6 separate regions of the Homo sapiens genome follow, and all the other regions are linked to region 2. The links are contacts of gene promoters, found by promoter capture Hi-C in blood cells and fetal thymus (Javierre and others, 2016). All regions are on one chromosome and are shown on one strand. The core of a region is centred on a gene start or on the middle of the fragment in contact, and the rest is flanking DNA. Distances in the headings are between cores, read along the strand shown.

Region 1 (4,097 bases), core at 1,199-3,698, 200 kb after region 2:
AATAACTATAACAATACTGCTGAGTTCATAGCATATAAGAGGTACATTGGATCAAAGTTGCTATATAACACTGGAATTAAGTAAAAATTATTAAACCAAAGTAGATTGTAAAAAGTGAAGATGATTGATTATTATAACCCCCAAAGGTACTTGGGAGGCTGAGATAGAAGTATTGCTTGAGGCTAGGAGTTTGAGACTAGCCTAAGTAACACAATGAAACTCTGTTGATATAGTTTGGATATGTGTCCCTGCCCAAATCTCATGTTGAATTGTAATCCCCAATGTTGGAGATAGGTCCTGCTGGGAGGTGAATGGATCATGGGGGCAGATTTCTCCTGAATGGTTAGTACCATCCTCTTGGTGCTGTCCTTGGGACAGTGAGTAAATTCTTGTGAGATCTCGTCATTTAAAAGTGTGTGGCACTGCCCCTTGCTCTTTTACTCCTGCTTTCGCTATGTGACATGTCTTTGCCTTCTGCCATGATTGTAAGCTTCCTGAAGCCTTCCCAGAAGCAGATGCCTGCATGCTTCCTGTACAGCCTGAAGAACTGTGAGGCAATTAAACCACTTATAAATTATCGAGTCTCAGGTATTTGAAAGCAATGCAAGAATGGACTAATACACCTGTCTCTAAAAAATTTAAGCAAAATTACCCAGGTGTGATGACACATGCCTGTAGTCCCAGCTACTTGACAGGCAAAGGTGAGAGGACTGATTGAGCCCAGGAGTTTGAGGCTGCAATAAGCTATGACCATGCCATTGTCTCTTAAAAAAGTAAGCCCCAGAGAGGCCAGGCGCAGTGGCTCATACCTGTAATCCCAGCACTTTGGGAGGCCGTGGTGGGCGGATCACAAGGTCAGGAGATGGAGACCATCCTGGCTAACATGGTGAAACCCCGTGTCTACTAAAAATACAAAAAAATTAGCCGGGCATGGTGGCAGGCACCTGTAGTCCCAGCTACTTGGGAGGCTGAGGCAGGAGAATGGCGTGAACTCGGGAGGTGGAGCTTGCAGTGAGCCGAGATCCCACCACTGCACTCCAGCCTGGGTGACAGAACGAGACTCCGTCTCAAGAAAAAAAAAAATCAACAGAGAAATTGAAATAGGGCACTAAAAATACTTGGTTAACATGAAAGAAGCAGTAATGTAAGAAAAGAAAAACAAAAAGACATGACACATAGAAAACAAATAACAAAATGTTAAATGCAAGTCCAACCATATCAATAATTATGTGAATGGACTAAAATAAAAAGGCAACTATTACTGTACAGGACTTTAAAAAAACAAGATTCAGCTATATGGTGCCTACAAGAAACAAACTTTAGATAAAACAAGCAGGTTGAATGTAAAAGGATAGGAGATTAGGAGACATACATATATATATACACACACACACACACACACACATACGCAAATGGTAATTATGGGGAAAGAAGAAAACATAAGTGTAATTACTATATATATGTAATTTTTTTAACCTGTAAGTCAGTTTTATTATCTGTAAAATGGGGATAAAAAAATTATCTCCTGCCAACATAAATAGGTTTTGTTACAATAAAATGAACTAGTGAGCATGAAAGAACATTGCAATCTGTTAAGATGTTCTTCCAGGAATTCTTGCATTCTAGGAAAATCAGAACATTTCTGGTTATAGAATTTTTGACATTTTGAGGAAAGATATTTTTTAGGATATATGTGAAAAGAACACTTTATCTTCTCTAATTACATCATGGATTCTCTTTTTGCATTGAGATTTTGCTTGAATATCAATAGACAAGACAAGGGAGTGGTTCAGGCACTTGTCTAGTGAGCGGATCGCTGACAGGAAGCAAGGAGCCAGAAGGACACTCCCCTGTGCTGTTGGTCAGGGGCCCGCTTGGCTGGTGCCAAGGATTTGTTCTCAGTGACAAGACAAATACAGAAATGGAGAGTGGTTACAAACTTCTATAGCAATTTGACACTGTATTTTATAAAAAGTAAATATCAGTCTACATCAAATAGGAAATTAAAAACAAAAACAATTGGGTATTAATCTACTAAGCTTAGTCCCTAGGTGACAAAATAATCTGTGCAACAAATCCACATGACACAAGTTTACCTATGTTACAAACCTGAACATGCACCCCTGAACCCAAAATAAAAGTTTTTTTTTTTAAAAGAAAAACAAAACAAAAAAACCACATCTGTTTCTTCATCACAGATAATTTGAGAAGCACTAGTGTCAGGAAAAAAGAATAATAAATAATATGTACATTAAAACTCACCAGAAAACATATATGCACTGGGATATCTTTTTGGACATTAAAGAAATGTGAAAAATCACACATATATTCCTAATGAACTTGACTATATTATATATATATGTTTATTTAGAAGTATTAAATTGAATTAAGTATTAAATTTATTTTTTAATAAGTGGTATAAAGGAAGGATGTTCTGATTAAGAAGGATAGGTAAAGGGCAATTACAACTCTGGGTAGAGAAATAGTAAAATGGCCAGAAACAGACTGGCAAAGGCTATGGAGTAATTAATCTCACAAAAGGAAGCAGAATTTATTAATATAAATAACATAGTATTGCTGATACTTAAATAATTGTGAGTTATATTGAAGAATTATTTTATATTTTAAAATAGCAAAACCCCCCAAAAAACAGTGTGGTAAAGCTGTGGTGAGGTTTGTACATTTTAGGAAGCCTTGTTATTTTTAGCTCATATGGTTTTTTGATAAGTAAAAATTTAAAAAAAGTTAAAAATGATTTCTCTGCTGCTTAAATTCCGATACACATCTATTGAGTGGTAAGATATGAGTTTAGAGTCACTGTATTTTTTTAGTAGTTCTACTAATAAGAAATTTTCATTAAGCTTTACTTTCTTTCTTTCTTTCTTTTTTTTTTTTTGAGATGGAGTTTTGCTCTTGTTGCCCAGGCTGGAGTGCAATGGCATGATCTCGGCTCACCACAACCTCCGCCTCCCGGGTTCAAGCGATTCTCCTGCCTCAGCCTCCCGAGTAGCTGGGATTACAGGCATGCAGCACCATACCCGGCTAATTTGGTATTTTTAGTAGAGACAGGGTTTCTCCATGTTGGTCAGGCTGCTCTTGAACTCCCGACCTCAGGTGATCCGCCCGCCTCAGCCTCCCAAAGTGCTGGGATTACAGGCATGAGCCACCGTGACTGGCCTAAGCTTTACTTTCTAAAAATTATATCAAAATTGGTATTTCTCTATTATGTAATCATAAATTATATCAAATATGCTGTTTTGAATTTTATTTTTCCCTTTAAACATAAAGACACACATTCAGTTCATTGTGCTATATAAATTACCAGTGTGATCACAAATTAAGAAATGCAATTCAAAGAATTTTGCGTACAAGGAGTCCTGAAAGTGTTAATAACTTTTGATGCAAAGATAATTTTATGAAAGTAATAGAAGACTAAAAAAAGGTACAAAACAATTATTATGTAAGTATCTTCCTTTTTCTGAATCACCCATGATTACTTTTTCCACCAAGCAAAAACTGACTACATACTTCAGATCTGTCTCAAATCTCCCCAGCCTCTTTTCCTAAACCTCCCCAGCCTCTCAGGACAGACAGGCTGCTCCTGTACTTTGTGCATTCTGCTATTTTTAGCAAGAGGCCTATTTTGTCAGTGTTGTCTGAATAGTATTTGCCAACTCCCAGACTTTCAGTCACTTATTTGTTTATTTATTTATTTATTTGGCTCTTTTCTTGTATTTCCCTTTTCCTTTTCTTTCCTTTCTTTTTCCATTTCCTCCTCCCTTCCTTTGCTTACTTATTTTTTTCCCTTTAATTCCCATTCACTATTTCCATGACTGTCAAATAGTAGGTTGATCCTTTAAAATATTCCTTTTTTAAAATTTATTGTACTTTAAGTTCTGGGATACATGTGCAGAACGTGCAGGTTTGTTACATAGGTATACATGTGCCATGTGGTTTGCTGCACCCATCTACAATATATCTTAAAATGAATAAAAGTGGAAACACGCAGAAGACATGGTGTATGGGGTGAGTGGGTTGCCAAGTGGATGGTGGCAGGGTGCTCCAGGGTGGCCAGTGGGGCTAAATGCTGTGTATTC
Region 2 (4,049 bases), core at 383-2,882:
ATTTCAGTAAAATCAGGCAAGGAGGAACCCTACAAAATAAACACAGGCATTCTCAAAGCAGATATAAGTGAAAACTCAGAGTATACTGTGGTCAGCTGTGTTCTCTATCACAAGTAGTTTGTCAACTTAAAATAAAGTACTAAAGTTTGGGAATGATCTACTCTAAAAATACATCGGACAATGGTCAATGTCATTTACAACATTCACCTCCTTTCTGATACACATCTCAGGAAAAAAAAAAAAAAAACTACTAAGTACCAGGTCAGAAATTTGGCACAACCCTAGATGACCACCTTGTCATGCAAATAAACTTAGAATGGTGCTCCTGAAAGTCAGCCACAGTGCTTCAAAAACACATGATTTTTTAAAACACCAAACTAAGCATACCACATAGTATAGAGACCAGGCTATGGAGTTGAGACCACCTGGGTTAGAATTCCATTTCTTTCCATTTAGTTGCTGTCACCTTCCTAATTTCTCTGTGTTCCATAATTCCATATTATCCATAAAATTCAGATATGAACACTTACTATACAGAGTTGTTATGAGGATTGGACAATGTATGCATCCCACAAGTAGATCAATTACAAGTACATTTTGCCCCAAGTAAAGACAACACGTGGGAACGCTGTGCAAGAGGGAACAGCAAAAGCAGTTGGAGGATGGAAGTCAGTTTGCAAACCTATGCGCACAGGCAGCCAAACACGAAAACGTTCCCCACAAGTAGTCTGTAAATTGGAGACTCCATTGGGATACACACACACACACACACACACGCCCTGAGAGGAAATAGCACCTTTCTTCATCACCAAGTTAGCCTTAAAAATTATTTACCCGTTGTTAGCCACACTAGCACTGACAAACCCAACTTTACTCTTGTAGGTCATTCTCCACAACGTCTGTGCTGCGTCAATCCCAAATCTGACTCCCTGACGCTTAACAGCGAAAATAAAAAACCGAGACATTACTCAATAGAGTTAACCCTTACTTAACAAAACGCTGTTGTCCCCTGTGGCGTGCAGACAGTAGAGACAGTAATTCCCGACCTTATGCTTGTCAGTGACGGCATGCCCTTTGTATACACGCTTCAGTAGAGAACGACTGCAGTAAGTAAACTGCTAGTAGCAACACTGTTCCCCTATCTAAACTTCCCCTTTCCAGAGTTACTGATGTCCCAACATGGGTCGGTCGCTCAGTCTCCGTCAAGCCCGTACCCCATAGCTTGGGCATTTCCCCCCGCAGATCACAAGATGCAAAGGGGAAGTTACTACCAAACCGACGAGAATGGCCCAGAGCTGGGGGCTGCCAGGCGGTTCCTGGGCCCCTCTCAGCACCAGAAGAAGGCGGGCGCAGGCTCGCCGCGGGTCGGCCGCACGCCATACCTGGATCAGGCCCTGCTGGAACAAGGCGCTGTGCACGCAGCCAGGGACCGCCCCGGGCAGCTCCAGCGAGCCGTTCCCATTGCAGATGCTCCAGTTGCCACGCAAGCTGTAACTGAGCTCCGCGGCGGTGGTGCCTGCACCGCACAGCGCGAGCAGCAGGAGCAGGTGGAGGCGCATCTTGAGATCCCGCGCCACCGAGATGTGGAGAGATCGAAAGGCAGCGCTGCAAGGGACCGGCGGTGAAGCCACTCACCCCCTCGGAAGTAGCCGAGGCTTTAGGTCCCCGCCCCGGCCCCGCCCCTAGGTCAGCTGAGCGCTCTCCGGGCGCAGCCGCGGGCGGGAGGGGAACGAGGAGGCTGCGCCTGCACCCGCTGAAAGCCGGGCGTCGCGGGTGCGGGAGCTGCAGCCCCCGAGAATAGCTACAGGCTGGGGGGCATTGCGGTCTGAGCCTTCCCTCGGCGCTTCTTCCCGCCGCCTCAGTACATACAACTGGAGGCAAGAATCTTGCACGGTAATTGGGACAGAAAGATCCCTGGGCGCGCAGTGGCACAAAGCCTCGGGAGATCAGAGACCGACTGTACGTGGAGACCATAGCTGGAGAGTCCCCTCACTCCTTCAGAGAACCCAAACTGGGAGACAACCCACCACTTCCCTTCCGCCAAATTTACACAGACCCTCGTCTACCTGGTAGCGTAACACTCACCCCGCTGCAGCTCAACTCGCGGGTCTCAGAGCCTACCCCGCCCTTCAAAGAGTAAACAAGTACTAGCAGTATCTCCATCAGAAGGTTGTTCTGAGGGCTAACCAAGAAAATGCGACTATAGCATGCAGCATGGAGCCTGGCCCAGAGAAGGCATTCACGTTAGCTATTGTTACTAGCGGCCTGCGTCCTTATGTTTCATAAAGCCCCACGGAGGTTTCTGAGGTTCTGGAACCTGCACTAGGCGCGCAGCTGAGTTTAAAATCCTCTGCACTCACTAGCTGTGGGACCTGGGCAAGCCGCAAAATCTCCATCTCCGTTTCTTGAAGTTTTCAAGGTGTTATAAGTATAAAATGAGTAAACATATGTGATCGTCCCTAACAATGCCAGAGTACCCAAGAAATACCACTGACTTATTTCGGGTCTTGTAGTCAAATGGTCTACCTGAGTCCCATTTTTGCAATAGGATGTAACAGTAATCCTAGAAGTTAAGACGGAATTTTACATTGCATAAAATAGACTGCCTTTCTCCTGTGTTGACGCTATCTGCCGTATATTTATGCTTCGGAAGAAGTCCTTGAAAAGAAATTTTCTCTCATCAAATCTGAGCTTTGTTTCGCCTTACAATGGCCTTGGAATTGCCTGATTCTGCAGACACCGGGCAATATCTTACTTTGCAAAGTCAGCATTATTTACAAGCCCTGAATATCTTGGCTTAAAGGACAGTATGGATTATCCAACCCAAGCCGCTGGCTTTACAGATGAGGGAACTGAGTTCAAAGAGATCGGGGCCAGGCGCGGTGGCTCACGTCTGTAATCCCAGCACTTCTGGGAGGCCGAGGCGGGTGGATCACTTGAGGTCAGGAGTTCGAGGCCAGCCTGGCCAACATGGTGAAACCCTGTCTCTATTAAAAATACAAAAATTAGCTGGGCGCGTGGTGGCACGTGCCTGTAGTCGCAGGTGCTCGGGAAACTGAGGCAGGAGAACCGCTTGAACCCAGGAAGCAGAGGTTGCAGTAAGCCGAGATGGCACTACTGCACTCCAGCCTGGGCTATAGAGAAAGACTCTAAAAAAAAAAAAAAAAAAAAGATCAGGTGACTTGCCTGTCACATAGTGGCAGACAGGATTAGAACCCTCCTCTTCAAGGTCCTACTGTCAGAGCCCAATGATGCTATAGGGGAAACGCTCTCACTGCTTCAAAGCCTTCCTCACTCACTCCAGAAGCATTTTTACCTTTGATAGAAACAAAGCTCTCAATTCAAATTATATGCCATAATTCACGGCATTAAATGGCTAGCCATGGTCTGTGCAACACTGATAACACAAGGTTTATGGCAACAAGAGCGGCAAAGGAATTTTTTCATAATTCCCAGAGATTTCATTAAGCCAAATCAGAGGAAAATTCATCCTTGATGATACATATGGATATATTCTGTTTATTAAGAAATATAATTTTTAGAAAAACAATAATAGAAGATTCTCATTCCTCCTTTCATTCCAGGATGCAAGCATAACATCATTTAGGTTACTTCACTTTGACAACAGAGAACATCAAAGAATAATCAAAGCCCTAATAAGTACTCTTCCTAAAATTGCAATTGGCACAGATGACATGATGTTTTCATTTTGTTATAGGATAATTTTTGTCCATGATTTTCTGGTAAATAAACCTTATTTAGAGATAACATAAAACTTCTCAACTTATGTAATTTAAAGTCATGATACCAAATGCAATGTTTAAAATAGTTATGGGTATCTTTAACTTACACTGTATAAACAGATTTCATTTTGATCATTTCATTTGATGCTTCCCAAAACTTGAATTATTTAGAACAAGTGATCGTTCCCTGGTTTAAAAAGATAAATAATGCCCACGGTGATTAAATGATGTGTAGGGTCAGTATCCTGTCACAACAGACCAATGGAAGTAGTTAGGCCCTTTGCTATATGACAACATTTCCTTCAT
Region 3 (4,411 bases), core at 398-2,897, 150 kb before region 2:
CCTTCCTCAAAACTCCACAGGGCTGAGATCTGAAGGTATAAAGCAGTTACTAGGTCATTTGGCCCCAGGAAGAAAAGCCAGAGGGAGGAGGTGGGCAGCATGCAAGATCTCCAACATGACAAGATCAGTTCTTCTAGAGACGAGAGCTGCTCCACTTCTAAAACTGCTCATGTGCCTCCCACAGCCTGTATGTGTCCAGCTCACTGACGTTAGCATGGTTCTCCCTTTATGTTAGCACCTCATTTCCCCAGAAGGCCTTGCCACAGAACACAAAAAGATGATGCACTCAGTGACCCCACGCTCTCCTTACCCAGGTCAGCCAGCAACAGAGTGACTGCAGAGAACACCACAAATGCCTCGGCAGCTACAGAATAATTTTTCTTTTAGCCTAAGACAATTCTGGACCCTCAGTTAAAATGTCAGTATTGCCAGAGGGTTAACACCAAGCCTTGTGAACATCTAGACATCTCAATTTGAGCAAGTTTATACAATTCATTCTCATAAGCTTGTTCCTATGGAAGAAGGGAGACAGCTTCACAGCTCTGAGTAAGCTCTTCACTAGCCTTAGGTCTCTGAGCAGGAGATGATTGACATGGTGGCCTGGACTGCCTGTTCCTTCCAAAAGGCTATAGCTCTGACTCTCTGCAGTTTGGTTGGGTATTCTGACCCAGCTCAGAGTTTGTGCAAAGCACTATTTCCCAGTACCAGAGCCCCTACAGCTGTTCTTCCCCCAAAGGGTACCATATTCTTGGAGGGTGGTCCTGATTCCTCTTGCCATTCCTCCATCATTAGGGTACCAGGCCCTCCTAAGGAGGACATGCTGAGTTGTTTATTATAAAGAAACAGACTGCCCTAGTGGTCCCTTCGATGTATAACGATTTCTGGTGTTTTTCTTTCCAACAGGTATTTGACATATTAAATGGGAAACCATATGAGCCAGAGTTTACATCTGATGATTTACTAGCACAAGGTGGGTTGTGATAAAACCAGATTCTCTTAACCATTATTATCTCCACACTGTCATTTAAAGGGAGGAACCAGCATTATCCAGGGTCTACTGTTAAAAGTTCTTATTTCAGAACCAAAAGATGCTGGAGGTAGATAAGGAGAATATCCAGTTTTAATCTACTGTAAATGTATACTGCCTTCTACTCAGCTGGGCTTTGACCTTCAAGTAGAGTAGCTTGGTTGGTTCCACTGGGAGTTGGACAGCAAGCCAGGCAGCAATGATCAGTCCCTCCAGAGTGTCTATGGCATGTTAGAACAAGTGTGTTCCTTCTTCATTTCCTTCAGGAGACATGAAACAGCTGGCTGAAGATGTGAAGCTGCAGCTGTATAAGTTACTAGAAATTCCTGATCCAGACAAAAACTGGGCTACTCTGGCGCAGAAATTAGGTCTGGGGATACTTAATAATGCCTTCCGGCTGAGTCCTGCTCCTTCCAAAACACTTATGGACAACTATGAGGTAACACCTTACCTTACAGATTTAGCAATTTTCATTTGACTTTACTCTGTTAACATCTCTGGCCAGGGCATAATCTCCTTCCCTTTTCCTTAACTCTGAAGAAGAAAACCAGTCATTGCCCAAGGCCTGGGAGGGTGACCCAGGCCAAGTTGGCAGCCCATCTTCCTGAGAATGCTGTTTTCAGATACCTTCAGATTTTCCCCGTTTTCAAATACCTGGAGACTTCCTGTGAAAATGCTACGTAGAGGGTCAGGATTTTCACAGAACTTTAACGGCCCTGAGCAAACAATCGACTGTAATCAACGTGTAGCTTCCTGTCCCCAAGAACACACCTTACCCCATGGCAGGGCATTGAGTCATGTTCTGTGAGGTGACTCCTAGTGGAGCCATTACCCGGGGATTTTTTTTTTTCATTTCTAAAAATAAAATGTAGAAAAGCATGGGGTGAAGTTTTCTGTTGAAAATTTCATGGTTAGCTTTTGTTTCTGCATGGATTTCAGAGCTTCAGCTTACAGAGGGAGACTGTGTAGACGTCACTGTAGGCAGAGTTTCACTGCCTCAGCGCTTCTCTCGCTGTCTCTCTCTCTGCTTACTACAAACCACTTCTCTGTGATTTCCTGAGTGGTCTTTGAGCCGAAACAGGAAACTTGATTCGAAGACTGTATTTTCTTAGTCGCTCTTCTCTGCCCTTTCCATTTCCTCCTGGCTCCTGAGTGGAGGAGGCAGCATGGAAGAGGGAAGGGTGGGCTGTCAGTGCTTACAGCCTGCACTGGGACTCGAACACAAGAACATGCTCCTCCTTCCTTTCTTTCTCACAGGTCTCTGGGGGTACAGTCAGAGAGCTGGTGGAGGCCCTGAGACAAATGGGCTACACCGAAGCAATTGAAGTGATCCAGGCAGCCTCCAGCCCAGTGAAGACCACCTCTCAGGCCCACTCGCTGCCTCTCTCGCCTGCCTCCACAAGGCAGCAAATAGGTAAAAAAAAAGACAAAAGACAGTGGAGATATTTTCCAGCTCCCCCAGGCTGGTGTCTTCAGCTCTTTTTGGATATGGTGTGGCAGTTTTCTTTCTCGTTTTCTGGATACACTTCCCTGTGTGTCTCTCTACCCCCTGGGCTCACCCTCTGCCTCTCTTGATAGTACCATTCAGATGAGGGGGTCGTACCCTTGGAAAATCACATTGACACATGAACTACTTAGTAAACACTAAATAATACAATAAATACTAAAAACAACATGATGTGGGTGATTAAATTTAACACATGAGAGAAATAATATTTACCTTAAAGAGAGAACCATCTCCTTCTTCCTTTGCCTCCTCTCTCAAGCTTATGACACTGACCTTGTCCCCCACCATATATGGGACTACGTGTCATGCCACCAAAAGTCTCGCAACCATATGAAATGGACTCTCAACCCAGCCCAGTAATCCTATATTTCCTACAATTTTATTCTCCCACTCTGTAAATGATGATTCCATGCTTTCTATTTCTAAACCCCCAACACTCCTTCCCTCCCCTTACTCATGCAACACCCTTGCTTCACACTCTGTTGAAAACAGAAGAAACCAGAACCCTCTCACCTTTGCACCAAGTGCCAGCCCACCTGTGCCTGTGCCCACATTGGCAGCCTTCCATCCGGACTTGGTGGGTTAAATTTCTTTGCCCAGCTGAGGAGCCACCTCTCCCCTGAGTCTAACCCCCTCACCTTTACTAGGTTGTTGTTCCTGTTAATTCTTACCTCTCTCTCCTGTACTAGCCGTTCCTCCTCCCCACTCTCCGACTAGGTCACCTAGCAAGCATTTCATGATTTCCTCATCTTTAAAAACAAAACACACCGAAACAATCACCCTCTTGATCCCACATCCCATTTAGCTACAGTCCAATTGCTCTATTCCCATACATAGCAGAGCTCCTTCAAAGAATTTTTTAGAGTTATTCTTTCCAGCTTGCCACCTTCCACCCTCTGCTTGGCCTCCTGCAGTTGGGATCGCATCCCCACCGCTCCACCAGGCCTGCTGTCCTCACAGTGACCGGTCACCTCCACATTGCCAGATCTGGTCACCTCCTTTTCACCTTGACCACTTGCAGAGTGTGTCATGGTTGACGCCTACCTTCAACTTCAGACCGTCTCCATTCCTGGCTCCTCCACAGCACACTCCCCTGGCTGGCTCTTCTACACTCACCTTTTAAAGTCACAGCCCTCCAGGGTCAGTCCTAAACCCTCCCTGCTTGGTACCTCACCCAAGCCCAATACTGGCTACATCTGTCAGAAGCGCTGCCATCTTCCAGGAGATTAAGACAAAACCCAAGAATTCCTCAGGAGTCCTTTCTGCCACTAATCACTTCGTATGCGACGCATCGAGTGTCATCCTGTCTGCAACCACCGCCCCAGGCCAGCCTGCCGTCATTTCCTGCCCAAATTCTTGCACGGCTCCTACTCAGTCCCCTTGTTTCCTTCCTGTCCACCTCCCTTCAGTCCATTCTCTGCCCAACAGACGGTATGATTCTTCTAAAAAATCAGTGACATTGTATTAATTCTGGGTTATGCCCTTCAGTTCATTCAGTCATTCATTCAGCAAATCCTGATCCAGCATACACTGTGTGCCTAGCAGTGTTCGAGGTTTTAAAGATAAAACTGTGTCCCTGCTTTACTCGTTTGCTTTCTTAAACATTGCTGTGGAAGCTCTTCCTCCACACTGCGCCTCCATTCCCAAGTGTTTTCTCTGCTCCCCTGGCTCACTAGTCTGACCAACCTTTTGACTGTTTCTTCCCATTCCCTGGAAAGCTCTTAATTGGCTGGCTCTTTCTTGCCACTCAGTTTCAGCACCCATCTCACCCTGCCAGGGGGCCTTCCCAGGGGAGCAAGGGCAGACGTCATTGTCCGCACTTGAGAAAGGAATAATGTATCCGCCGGAAAACAACCCAGATCTCCTGAGTCACAGCC
Region 4 (4,263 bases), core at 1,622-4,121, 220 kb before region 2:
CATCTGGTGCTCTGCCTGTGTCTTTCACATAGCTAAGAAGAAAATTTCCATTTAGCTTTCTGATATCTTGCTGTGCAAGTCTTCATGCTCTTTTTTTAAAAAAAATTTTAATTATAAATTCTTTCAAGCATATAGAAAGTTTAAAAATTGACATAACAGACACTATGTACTACAACACAAATTTAATAGGTATTAGCATCTTACCTTATTTGCTTTTGATAGCTCTCTCTCTCTCTCTCTGTCCTCTCTCTCTCTCAAATAAAATAGTTACAGCTAAAACCCCACTTATCCATCACTTTGTCCTCCTTCCTTCTCTTAGGTAAGCTGCTACTCTGAACTTTCACTCCCCAAGATGTTTTTATATTTTTACTACATAAGAATGCATCTATAAATACTGGCATTTTCAAGAAAGTTAATTTTTACTAACTTCAACCCAAATTTGCCATTGTATAGGATGGCTCCTTTTCAGGGCAAACATAGGTTCAAACTGGACGCCATTGAAGATTAACTGGTACTCACTTTGATCCTATTGATTCCTCTTTGCTGTCTAGATAAAAATGTATTTGTCACAATGTAGTTTGTACTAACTCTTATAGCAAAAAATAATATTCAGAGAAAAATCTAGGGGAAGTAAGTATGCAGACTAACTCTTATATCTTGTCCTTTCATAAGAAAAATTTCCCATCATTAAACATTTAATAATCTATTATACTGCCTATAAAATTTCCCTTTAAAGTTTTTTCCATTCTAATTTCATCACGGAGCTCCTAATAGGAGAGGCTGGCAGAAAAGCACAGGAACCTTCCTCTAGGCCAAGCTTGTCCCTGCCTGCTTTTGACTCAGCAAGGAGTGCCAGGGAAGGCTCACTTCCCTATTTTTCCCGAAAGCCACGCGTGAAGTTTTAAAAATCAAACTGTGTTCCCTTTCACAGAGGTGGGTGACAAGAGAAGCAGCCCCATGGGACTTCAGAAACTCTCACCAATCCTCCTCTAGAGTGACCAGAAAGTACCCCTTCCTATCCTAACTAATGTGACACGTCCTTCTGTGTGGTCCACTCTATGCAAAACCAGAAATTGACAAGAATGACTTTGATTGTAAAGTACAAATAGCTTACCAGTTAGTATTCTTAGTTTCTCTTTAGTTATAAATATCAAATGCAAGGGACTTGAAACCCAGCTGATAGAAGTGTAACTATTTTTAATCAAACATTTTCTGAAAGCTGGTTCTCACATATGTTGTCTTTCCTGAGTGTTTTATGTTGAGTGGAAGACGTGTTGAAATGTTTAGGTCAACAACAGCTTTTTTGTTGTCCCCTTCCACTACTGATTTAAAAAAAAAAAAAAAAGGCTCCACTCTTCGTGCCTTTCCTTAAAAATCCTAAATGTTAAGTTTCTGTCGAGGTCGAATAGAGACTACCCGATCTGCTGTGGCATTTGAGGATATCACATATCCTTGCATAATCTCCCTTTCCTTTGTATAGACTTGTCTGATTCACGTGGTTTGGATCTATTTGGAGTACTAATTTAAAATAATTTAACCTGACTCAATTACTTAAAACAACAGGGGAGAAAATCACCAATAATCAGCTATGTGTGCGTATAGAACCTAGTTCATATCATTTATTAGGATTTCCATTGAACCCCTAAGCTGTTCACTGCGCAAGTATTTAATTAGGGAAAATAACCATACCCCTATGTACATTATACTGTGTGTTTTGTAAACCATGAGAAAAGCTGCTTATTGAACAGAAGGGCTTTGTAACCTGGGGTCTATGGATCCCTGTTGGTGGTTTCAGACGCTTTTTAGATTCCTAAATTTATATGCAGACTTACACATGTATGTATGTGCATTTTTTCTTGGGAGATGAGTATAACTTTTTATCATATTTTCAAAGGGAAAGATTTAACATGGTTAAGAATCATGCTATAGCTTGTATCACTTTAGCTTTTTGATAGCAGCTATCTTTTTAAATGATCTATGTAATATTTTTTAAGATTTTTTCTTTTTTTATTCTTGCATTTTTAATCAATTTTAAATGAAGTGAAATGCTTTATGTTGCTCAACACATAGCCCAGAAAGCCTCCCTTCAGTTTTCCAGTAGGTGGAAAAAAGATGAAACTGAATTGATGGCCAAAAGAGTTGAATGGGCTTCACTGCTTTTTCTTTCTTGCTCTTCCATGCATTTGCAGATTAAGCATGAAGCTCACCATTAGTGATTGAAGCCAAAAGAGAGAAGGCAATTCATTGAACAAATATTGATTGAGCACTGTGTGTCAGGTACTGCTCTAGACAAGCAGACAAAACTCCCTCCCATATGTAACCACAATTGAGACTTATAGGTAATTTTTGTTGCAAGTAGTTCAGAAGTTTTGTATTTTGTCCTAAAACAAAATATTACTTTGTAAAATATTTTTTTAAATAGCCCTCTAAATCCGCTGTATATATTCAAAGTCACTATTATAAAGTGGAGAAAGCTACTCATTAGAGAAAACCTATCACACAGATAATAGCTGGGAAGCTTAACCCTTAGAAATTATTAGGAGAGATATACACTCCTTGAATTTAAGAACTGTCTGAATTTTAAATTTTGTTTTGTCAGTTCTGGCTTGGTGACCTTCCTCTATTGGCCATTCCCATTTTTCTGCCCTCCACTCTTCCTTGACACATGATTATTTCTGGGACCACTGTTCAATCCGAAACAAATCTCTGGTGGCTTCTTTTAAACCCAGTGGTCTCAGTCTGAAGGTATAGTGGGGCAACTCTCGGCATTCCATTCTGGAGTCTTGACCTCATAAAGTCACATATTGGCAATTCGCCTTGATAAGGTCAAGTGAACACACAGAAGCACTAAGATCCCCACATGTGTTCCACTGCCTCCTCCACAGACAAGTTGTTTTTCAACCCATCTGCAGGTCCAGAGGTGAAGCTGGAGGCTACCCTGCAGTCTCAGTCTTTTCTCCCCACCCTCCAGATGGATTCCAAATAAGAAGCCTCCAGACTACCTTCACCTCCCTGGGGTCTCATGGACATGGGCTGGAAAGTGCTTGCAGACTTTCACAGACAATGCTTTTTGCCTTTAGGTCCCCTTCTACCCAACAGAATGATTATAATAATGGCTTGATGTGCTTACTTACATCATCTCATTTAATCATCACAGTAATCCACTGATGCAGGTTCTGTGATCCGCATTTTATAAATGAGGAAATTGAAGCCTAGAGAAATTAAGAAGCTTAACTTGGGTCTCACAGGCTTTTAGAGATGGAGCCCAAGATTTCAGTTCATGCCATATGGTTTAAGGGCCTGCACTCTTAACCATTGTGGAATACCATTCATTATCATAATGTTAAGGATCTGTTTCTACTTTGCAGGAATCTTTTAAATCTATGGTTCACAATCATGGGTGGGCTTCAGAATCGTCCAAAAATGTTTCAACCACAGAGACGCCTGGGAACCACTGCACAATTGCTAAATCACAGTGCATCATCTAGCCAATCTTGGATTCTACAATAATTCTATGACAGTTTCTAAGAATACATGCCATTATATAATGGCAACATATTACAACAGATAATTGAATAGATATTCAATGTATACCGTGGAATAGAATATTATGCCACTGTGTTTTAAAAAGATAATTAAGAGGATACGGCACAACGTGGAAAACTGCTTATAACATAATATTAAGGATAAACCTCAGCTGGGCATAGTGGCTCACGCCTATAATCCCAACACTTTTGGGAGGCCAAGGCAGGAGGATTGCTTGAGCCCAGGATTTTGAGGCCAGCATGGGCAACATAGTGAGACCCTGTCTCTATAAAAAAAATTTTTTAAAGAAAAAAAACAGGATTTCAAATTATTGCTAATATTTGTAGTGATTACAAATATTAGCTTCTTTTTATAAAGCCTGGGTGGAAGCATATAGATGTATCTTTAGCTTTATTTATTCATCCATGACTTAAAGAAGATTGGTTAACACCTGACTCCACCTTGAGTAGCAGAACATTGGACTGAAGGAAAAAAAAAAATGTGAAGCTGTCTTACTTAGCTACAGTTTCCAGCATGTTTTCTCAGGAGCTCTATGGGAGACAGTGCAGTGTGGCTCTCAAACCTTACTACCCATAAAAATCTGCTTCAAAACCTACTTAAAATATCGATTTTATTCCATTTCCAAAGCCTGGTAGAGTAGGTAATTCTCCCACTACAATACACTTAGTAACACTAGAAAAAAAATATAACATTTTCTTTAATGCATAGCTGAGTTTA
Region 5 (4,383 bases), core at 957-3,456, 240 kb before region 2:
TATAATTATATATAATATTATAAGTATATATACTTTTATCATACCATCAGTGAGTATAGACATGGTTCAGGGAGAATCTCTTTATTCTCCTTCTATCTTTTGAGATAGACCAAAGAAAATTTTTTTTTAAAAAAAGAACTATCACTTGAGTTAACATTGTTTGGTATTTTTATCTTCATAGGTGATTGCCTTGTGAATAACTCATTTTGTGTATTGTCAGAATCCTATTCTGCTTTTCAGGCTGTGCTATGGGTAGACTAGCTCTAACCAGAACACTTGGGAGACCTGAAGCAAAGATACTATATTAAAATAAGTAATGTTATATGCCAAAGAGGAAAACCACTTCTGCCTCCTAAACAACTGAAAGAACCAGAGACTGTGGGGTCAGATTAGCTAGCATTACTATATGAACCTGAGCAAATGACTTACTCTCTTTCAGCTTCAGTGTCTTATCTAGGACATTGGTTCTCAGGATTGGTGTGAGAATTAAGAGAAATATGTGAAGTTCTAGCTACAGTTCTTTACCCATGAGGTAGTCAGTAAAGTTTACTTCTTTCTCCATGTGAACCAAAGCACTGTCATGATGTGATGATGTTCATTAGGGTTTCTCATGCTCAGCGTTATTGATATTTAGGGTTGCATAATGCTTTATTGTGAGGGGCCATTCTGTGCAGTATAGGATGTGTAGCAGCATCTGTAGCCTCTATACACTAGATGCCAGTAGGACCACCTATCCAGCTGTGACAGGCAAAAATGTCTTCAAACGTTGCCAAATGACCCCTGGGGGCAAAATGCAAACAGTTTATCTAGCAGTGACACATAGCCAGCCACCTTAGAAAGGGAATTGTCAGCGTACCCATAAGTGTAGAATGGGAAACAAAATACTTGAGTCTTCTCAGAATGTCTAAACCTTTTGCTGTCTATATTCCTCTTTTTATAATTTACCACAAACATATATTGCTTATTATGCCATCTAATAAAATGGCTAACATTTGCTGTGTATTATACTCGGTGTTAATAAGCTTTGTATGAACTCACTAGCTGAATGTTGTATATGTATCTGCCATACCTGTTGGATTGACATTCCACTGTAAACAGGTACCTTATCTTTACCAGCTCCAAGCACAATGTATTTGGTATATCAGGTAGCTATTCTACATGTTAATTGATCACATTGCACCCAAATGAAACATGGATGTGGAAGTGGAAGGAGGAGCTTTAAAACATGGAAAATTAGTTTATACAAATCTAAATGTTGTAGTGCACCAAATTGATTCCTTTTTAAAAACTTTCAGAAATCAGCTTTTAAAAAAAAAAAGTAACTAAGCCATGATCAACTTTTCTTTCATCACCACTAAGCCAATATCAGAAAGTTGTCAATCAACAGCTCTTTTAAAGTTGAAATTTTTCTATTGTATTTCTTATGAAGATTTCAGTAGTGCTTAGAAGTTTTTGGCTCATTTATCATGTTTTATTCACTGTATGTCATTAATTGTTAAAGATGTCAGAGTCAAACCTTAAATTCAGGAGAGATTTAAATTTTTCCTTTTTCCTATTTAAATATATGTTTCTAATTACATAATTCAGTTAGAAAATTACAATATAGAAACATATAACTTAGTAAAAGTTTCCAGTTACTGTATACAGATTATATTGTATACTGTATTATTTTTAACAGTTGCATATTTAACTTATAAATGTGGATAATTATAATTAAACAATCTGTTATCAAAGGACATACAGATTATTTCCAGTTCCTTGCTGCAGTGAATATCCTTGTACTTATTTTTTTACACACTTGCTCAGATAATTTTTAAGTACAAATTCCTGAGGTAGAATTGCAGAATCAAAAGATACTCTCATTTGAGTGTTTCACATTTTATGCAAAGTATTTTGTTTCCTCCAGAAAATTCCTCTGTGGAAGAGGCTTCCTCACATTCTTTATCAGTTTATTAGCCAGCAGAGAAATGATGAAAAGCCACCCCTTTTCTTGTAGTTTCATCCTCATTGCTATCCAAGATGAGGTATTAAAATCACACCTAAGTGGTGTCTGTTGTGGCTGAATATAATCTTGAAAGTAGAGACACTTCTCTCTGATTCCCAACTGTACTCTCTGGATGGCACCTAAAATTTTATTTTTTCAAACTGAAAATCATTTTAATGAGTTCGAAAAGGTTTTATTTTTTAAAATGAAATCCTATAGAAAGAATACATTTTCTTACAGTGGGTCATGGTCAAAAGTGTGAATATCTCTGATCCTAGAAAGTTTCCCCAGTTACAAGGACAGGCGTGCCCCCAACTCCATCCTTAATGGCTCAATTCTGTGGCTTTCAAGTTAATCCACTCAGTCCTACAGCCTTCACCAAGAAGCTCATGTGCTACACTTTGGTGTTAGTGGGGGCATTGTCACACAGGTTCAGAAAATAACCCATTAGGCATTTTATAGAACTCATCACATGTTCAGAACTAAGCTAGTTGTAACATTATGTTTTTCATGTGAAAAAACACAAGCAATTCACTGGCTATTTTATTTGTTGCTAGCTAGCTATACTTTCTATTTCTTTTTCCATGGTGTGAAAATCTTCCTAGAAACCTCACTACTGGGAAAAGAGATGCAGAGATTAGTCCCATCTTCTCCCCTGGAAATTTACTATCGCCCTTTTGGCTTCAAGGTCCTTCCTCAAAAGCAAAGAATTGAACAAGGGAAAGTGAGGGGAAGGGCTGGGGGAACAGGGAGGTAGAAGGGGTTTTCCCTGGTCTTTTCTAATCCTTTAGTTCCAGACGCTTAGTTGGTATTTCAACATTTTAGAAATAAAACCTGCTTTTATAATTAATGCAAATATTACTTAGTGATTCATCCTTTCCAAATGATTCTTGGTTTCTTTTGACATTTCATTTTTAAATTGTGAATTAACATTGACATCACCATAGCGTTACTGTTACCTCAGCTCTTTACAGTGAACTGTATTGCAAAGGCTATAAAAGTTCAAATTTTAACTATCACCCACGTGAGCCTTGGACTGCTGTTAGGCTTTTGAAACTGTGATCCTTTGGCAAGAATTGGTGTATAAATCATGGGGAGGATATTGAAGGGGAAGATCATGTTTAATTTGGCAGTTGGGTGCCTGCAATTGACAGATTTTCATTAAGGTTTTAGCTATAGTAGTGATCATGCATCAGTTCTAATAAAGTAGGTTTCGTTTGAATTTTAAAAATTAGAGTGAGGACTGCTTTATGTTAACTGTTTACATTCAGAAGTCTGGAAAACCATCCACAGGTTTAAATGTATATAATCAGTATAATTAACACATCAACAGCCTCACCTCTGTTTTTGAGGACCATAGGCTAATATTATTTATGAAGGTTCAGGAGATCAGTCTAGATCGACAGAAAGCTTAAGGGCAAAGATGGTTTTAATATTTTTCTTGGAAGTTTGAGCTTCTGTGGTATTCTAAGGATAGGGATTTTGACATTGATTGTTCTAGCTGGTATTCAGTACTGTATTTAAGTGTAATGTTTTTACTAGTATTCTTCTTATAACTGAAAACTATGCTAATGATTCTTTACTATAGATATATACTCATAAATACGTGTAAAAATCCAAGTTTACCAAAAAATATTAAGACTTAGGGGATATGTTCTTTGAATAGGCATTTATTTGCTAATTAACATATTCTAATCTCAACAAGGTTATATTCTTTTCAAAAATCCATTCCATCAAAATCTGTCATTTTTACAGATGAAGAAACAAAGGCCACAGTGAGTTTAGTTAATATCCAAGATCACACAGCCAGCATGATAGAACTCTTAAATTTCAAGCGACTTACCCTCTTTACTCTATCAGGTCAAATTTCCCTTTTTTAACTGCTTGTCTTAATTGAGATTTGTTTAATTGTGGCTGTCTGTATATCTTCAATCAATACTTTCTTGTTTTAGACAAATGTTTCCCTGCAAATCTGCATGAACTTCATGTTCTGAAGGACTCAGAGCTGCCCTTTCCTTTTTGTTAAAGTTGTACACTGCTCTGCATCCCCCTAGAATGCTCATCAGCTTTCTCACTCTTCCTCACTCACACAGTGCTCCAGCAGGAGAGGATTTCTTTGAAAATCAGATTCTTTTTTGGAGGGCTTTGTGCTTATTGGAGTGTTATGTGATATATTCATTACGGTGAGGGCTAAACTCTTTGAACAAAGAGACCTGACAGTGCATTTGGGTTAAAGAACAAAGTTTATTTCTTTCTCTCATCACCACCAGCATGAGCAGCCTGGATGGTCAGAGCAGATCTGTCTCATGGCATTGTTCAGGGATCCTCATTCCTTCCCTCTCATTTATCTGCCATCCCCTAGGCTATTAATCATCATGTTTTTGGTAGAAGCCAGGTCT
Region 6 (4,131 bases), core at 77-2,576, 230 kb after region 2:
TCTTCCAATGTAAAAAACAAAACATAAACAATGATAACAACAACAAAACACCAGAGTAGAGTTAACTCTGCAGTAGAAATCTCCAAATTTGCCTTATGATTGTCATGGGTGGGTGGGTGTGGGGGTGTGTGTGCCAGCAATTTGAGTGACTTGATAATACTTTGAGTGAGTGAAAGAGGGAACATCTTATCATCACAGGAAACAATAAAAAGGCTAGAGTGCATGGACACATTGAGGAAGGGAATTTTACATGTAATGACTAAGGAGACAGAGATATCAAGGCAGCTGATGGTTAAAAATGAATTATGTAGCTCTTTAAGATCAAAGTTCTTCAAATCTGATCATAATTAACCTATTGGAGTTCTGGTATAGAGGCAGGCTTTTTCTGAAAATTCTGTTACTATATAAAAGGGATAAAGACACAATGGTGAATTTTTATTAAGGTGGGTGAAAGGTCATGTAGAGTAAAACCATATTATTTTAAGTTTTATTATTTTAGAATTTGTAATAAACTGATGTAGACTAAGATGACTTCTTCACAGATAATTAGAATCAATGGTGAATATTTAAAATATTTTTAAAAATGACTTTTTGACCCTTAAGAACTGTAGAAATCTCTATTTTAAAAAAATACGAAATTTACAATTCTAATTATGAGCAATTATTACTAAGTAAAACTAGATCAACAAAAGGTCTAACGACTTGCTCTATATATCTATAAAAATAAAAAACTTGGGTCTCTTCAAAACACACAGCACAACATTTTAATTAATCTAGACTTATCTTTACCTCTGTTAGTTTAAGTTACTGAGTTTTCCCTGAATGTGGTGAGAAATAATAAGCGACATTTCTTCTTATTCCTAAAATCTGTGCTCTTTAGCTCCAAAATGCTCTATAGTCACACCTTTCCATTTGTTTCATTATTTCTGCTCATTTCCTAGGACCCATTACAACTAGCTATTTTAAAATTTACCACTTTTCATTTTTAACCAGATATATAAAAGAAACCTATCTAATAAGTAAATTAGGAATAAATTTTAAGATCAGGTTGATTTTATATCATATATTACAGTATACTTTTAAGTTTTTACCTGAGGAGTTGTAGATGTTTGGAAGTTTTCATCCTCCAAATGTTCATTTTTTGATTCTGTGGTATGCATGCTAAGATTTAAAAGAAAAATACTTTAAAAGAAGAAACAAGACTATAAATCCATATGAAAACAAACATGGTTAAGTGGGATTAATTTTTTAAAGGATTTTTTGTTCTAAAGTTGTATCACAGTCAAGTCAGATATCTTTATAGTCAACATAGATCCAAATATTCATCTTTAACATTATTAACCAAAGCCATATGCATAAGTTTTAAAAACCATTATCATACAGAAATGTAATATTTCTCAACAGTTCATAATGCTGGCCCATATCATAGAATCATGTATCAGAAAATGCAGAAATTTATTTTATGCACTGAACTGGTGTGTTTGAGTTAATATCCACTGTTGATTTAATCTATCTTCTGTCATGCTCTTACATAAAACACTCCAGAAAAATTTTAAATGAAATATGACCAACTACATTAATACCTACATCTATAAGTTACTGATACATACTATCTTTTTATGTGGCCCATTTGAAGGATCTGTAGGTCCAACATTTAAATATATCTATAAAGTTTTATTTTGAAGAAGAATAAACTAGATGAATAAAATAATAATTACTTATAACTTTTATTTTAAAGTATCTGTTGTTTCTACCTCCTCTGTAATCTTTGCTAGCTTCAAATATAAGTAGGGTAACTTTTCTTAAAAATATCTTCTCTCAATTTTTGAGTTGTTGTTAAGAACAAAACTAAAGATTTCAAGTTTTAATTTTTAGATAGTCTTATTACCATATCCTGTAGTGCTTCAAGTATCTATACTTTTCTAAAAGGAAAACAATTTTAATAATGAAAATTGTTAACGAAAAGGAACATTAACAGTTGAGTAGCTACCATATGCTAGCTGCTTTACATCTATTGTCTTACCATAATGAAGTAAAATATTACTGCATAAAATCCTATAAAGAATCATAACTGAATTTATAACATTATTAAAGCAAAAAATAACCTTTAAAAATTTTGATCAGAAACTTAGATCTAAATTCCTTTAAAGTGTAGTTCCATTTTGATTGAAGTGACTGTCAAAATAACTATCTTGTCATTAGAATGATGTATTAGTCCATTTTCATGCAGCTATGAAGAGATACCTGAGTCTGGGTAATTTATAAAGGAAAGAGGTTGAATTGACTCACAGTTCCACATGGCTGGGGAGGCCACAGGAAACTTAAAATCATACTGGAGGGGACCTCTTCACAGGGTGGCAGAAGAGAGAATGAGTGCAAGTAGGGGAAATGCCAGACACTTATAAAACCATTAGATCTTCTGAGACTAACTCACAAGATCCAGCTACCTATACCTTGTCCCACCCATGACATGTGGGGATTGTTATAACTCAAGGTGAGATTTGGGTGGGGACAGAGACAAATCATATCATTCTGCCCCGGCCCCTCCCAAATCTCATGTCCTCACACTTCAGAACACAATTATGCCTTTCCAACAGTCCCCCAAAGTCTTAACTAATTCCAGCATTATCTCAAAAGCCTAAGTCCAAAGTCTTGTCTGAGACAAGGCAAGTCGCTTCTGCCTATGAGCCTATAAAATCGAAAGGAAGTTGGTTACTTCCTAGGTACAATGAGGGTACTGGGAGAAATTGGCCAAAACAAAGAGGCTACAGACCCCATGCAAGTCCGAAATCCAATAGGGCAATCAGTAAACCTTAAAGTTCCATAATGATCTCCTTTTACTCCATGTGGCACATCCAGGTCACGCTGATGCAAGAGGTGGGCTCCCATGGCCTTGGGCAGCTCCGCCCCTGTGGCTCTGCAGAGTTACAGTCCCACTCTCTGGTGCTTTCACAGGCTGGCATTGAGGGTCTGCTGCTTTTCCAGGCACATGGTGCAAGCTGCTGGTGGATCTACCATTCTGGGGTCTGGAGGATGGTGGCTCTCTTCTCACAGCTCCTCCAGGTAGTGCCCCAGTGGGGACTCTGTGTGGGGGCTCCAACCCCACATTTTTCCTTTGCACTGCCCTAGCAGAGGTTCTCCATGAGGGCTCTGCCACTGGAGTAAACTTCTGCCTGGATATCCAGGCATTTCTATATACCCTCTGAAATCTAGGTGGAGGTTCCCAAAGCTCAGTTCCTGAGTTCTGTGCACCTGTCGGCCTAACACCACGTGTAAGCTGCCAAGCCTTGGGGCTTGCACCCTCTGAAGCAATGCCAGAGCTGTACCTGGCCTCCTTTAGACATAGCTGGAGCTGAAGCAGCTGGGATGCAGGGCACCATGTCTCAAGGCTGCATAGAGCAGGGTGACCCTGGGCCTGGCCCACAAAGCCATTTTTCCCTCCTAGGTCTCCAGGCCTGTGATGGGAGGGGCTGCCACAAAGGTCTCTGAAAATGCCCTGGAGACATTTTCCCCATTGTCTTGGTGATTAACATTTGACTCCTCATTACTTATGCAAATTTCTGCAGCAGGCTTGAAATTCTACCCCCTTCCCCAGAAAATGTTTTTTTTTCTATTGCATCATCAGGCTGCAATTTTTCCAAACTTCTATGCTCTGCTTCCTCTTGAACACTTTGCCACTTAGAAATTTCTTCTGCCAGATATCCTAAATTATCACTCTCAAGTTCAAAGTTCTACAGATCTCTGGGGCAGAGGCAAAATGCCACCAGTCTCTTTGCTAAAGCATAGCAAGAGTGACCTTTACTCCAATTCCCAACAAGTTCCTCATCTCCATCTCAAACCACCTCAGCCTACACTTCATTGTCCATATCACCATCAGCATTTTGGTCAAAGCCATTCAACAAGTCTCTATGAAGTTCCACACTTTCCCACATCTTCCTCTCTTCTGAGCCCTCCAACCTGTTCCAACCTCAGCTTGTTACCCAGTTCCAAAGTCGCTTCCACATTTCTGGGTATCTTTATAACAGCAGCCCACTCTGTGGTGCCAGTTTACATTAGTCCTTTTTCACGCTACTACAAAGAAATACCCGAGACTGGGTAATTTATAAAGGAAAGAGGTTTAATGGACTCACA

What was found. Contacts are between HindIII fragments. The CHiCAGO score rates a contact against its expected background, and 5 or more counts as called.
Region 1: a fragment that was not itself captured here is called in contact with the fragment with the promoter of MANBA in region 2 in 1 of 17 cell types (total CD4 T cells); the score reaches 5.5 in total CD4 T cells.
Region 3: a contact is called between a fragment that was not itself captured here and the fragment with the promoter of MANBA in region 2, in 1 of 17 cell types (neutrophils). The highest score is 5.1, in neutrophils.
Region 4: a contact is called between a fragment that was not itself captured here and the fragment with the promoter of MANBA in region 2, in 1 of 17 cell types (monocytes). The highest score is 6.5, in monocytes.
Region 5: a fragment that was not itself captured here is called in contact with the fragment with the promoter of MANBA in region 2 in 1 of 17 cell types (monocytes); the score reaches 6.4 in monocytes.
Region 6: a fragment that was not itself captured here is called in contact with the fragment with the promoter of MANBA in region 2 in 12 of 17 cell types (total CD4 T cells, monocytes, naive CD8 T cells and 9 more); the score reaches 9.7 in total CD4 T cells.

Annotation. Positions count from the first base shown.
Region 1 is chr4:102,957,854-102,961,950 of GRCh38, forward strand. All of the region lies in intron 3 of SLC9B1 (solute carrier family 9 member B1), which reads right to left. It also overlaps the pseudogene ACTR3BP4. Among named protein-coding and RNA genes, the nearest start is that of SLC9B1, 60 kb to the right of the region's middle. The HindIII fragment of the contact is 822 bases long and covers 2,038-2,859 here.
Region 2 is chr4:102,759,336-102,763,384 of GRCh38, forward strand. It overlaps MANBA (mannosidase beta), which reads right to left and starts at 1,633. Exons shown (of 17, transcript NM_005908.4): 1 at 1,383-1,633. The coding sequence starts at 1,559. RefSeq lists an enhancer at 1,228-1,577 and a silencer at 1,668-1,797. The HindIII fragment of the contact is 23,862 bases long and covers 1-4,049 here.
Region 3 is chr4:102,611,141-102,615,551 of GRCh38, forward strand. It overlaps NFKB1 (nuclear factor kappa B subunit 1), which reads left to right. Exons shown (of 24, transcript NM_003998.4): 21 at 904-970; 22 at 1,294-1,466; 23 at 2,285-2,441. The region is part of intron 1 of LOC105377347 (a long non-coding RNA gene); the gene reads right to left. Among named protein-coding and RNA genes, the nearest start is that of NFKB1-AS1, 110 kb to the left of the region's middle. The HindIII fragment of the contact is 2,288 bases long and covers 504-2,791 here.
Region 4 is chr4:102,542,276-102,546,538 of GRCh38, forward strand. The region is part of intron 5 of NFKB1 (nuclear factor kappa B subunit 1); the gene reads left to right. Among named protein-coding and RNA genes, the nearest start is that of NFKB1-AS1, 42 kb to the left of the region's middle. The HindIII fragment of the contact is 711 bases long and covers 2,517-3,227 here.
Region 5 is chr4:102,519,376-102,523,758 of GRCh38, forward strand. All of the region lies in intron 1 of NFKB1 (nuclear factor kappa B subunit 1), which reads left to right. Among named protein-coding and RNA genes, the nearest start is that of NFKB1-AS1, 19 kb to the left of the region's middle. The HindIII fragment of the contact is 2,372 bases long and covers 1,021-3,392 here.
Region 6 is chr4:102,990,552-102,994,682 of GRCh38, forward strand. SLC9B1 (solute carrier family 9 member B1) reads right to left here. Exons shown (of 12, transcript NM_139173.4): 2 at 1,092-1,161. The coding sequence starts at 1,160. Among named protein-coding and RNA genes, the nearest start is that of SLC9B1, 27 kb to the right of the region's middle. The HindIII fragment of the contact is 7,430 bases long and covers 1-4,131 here.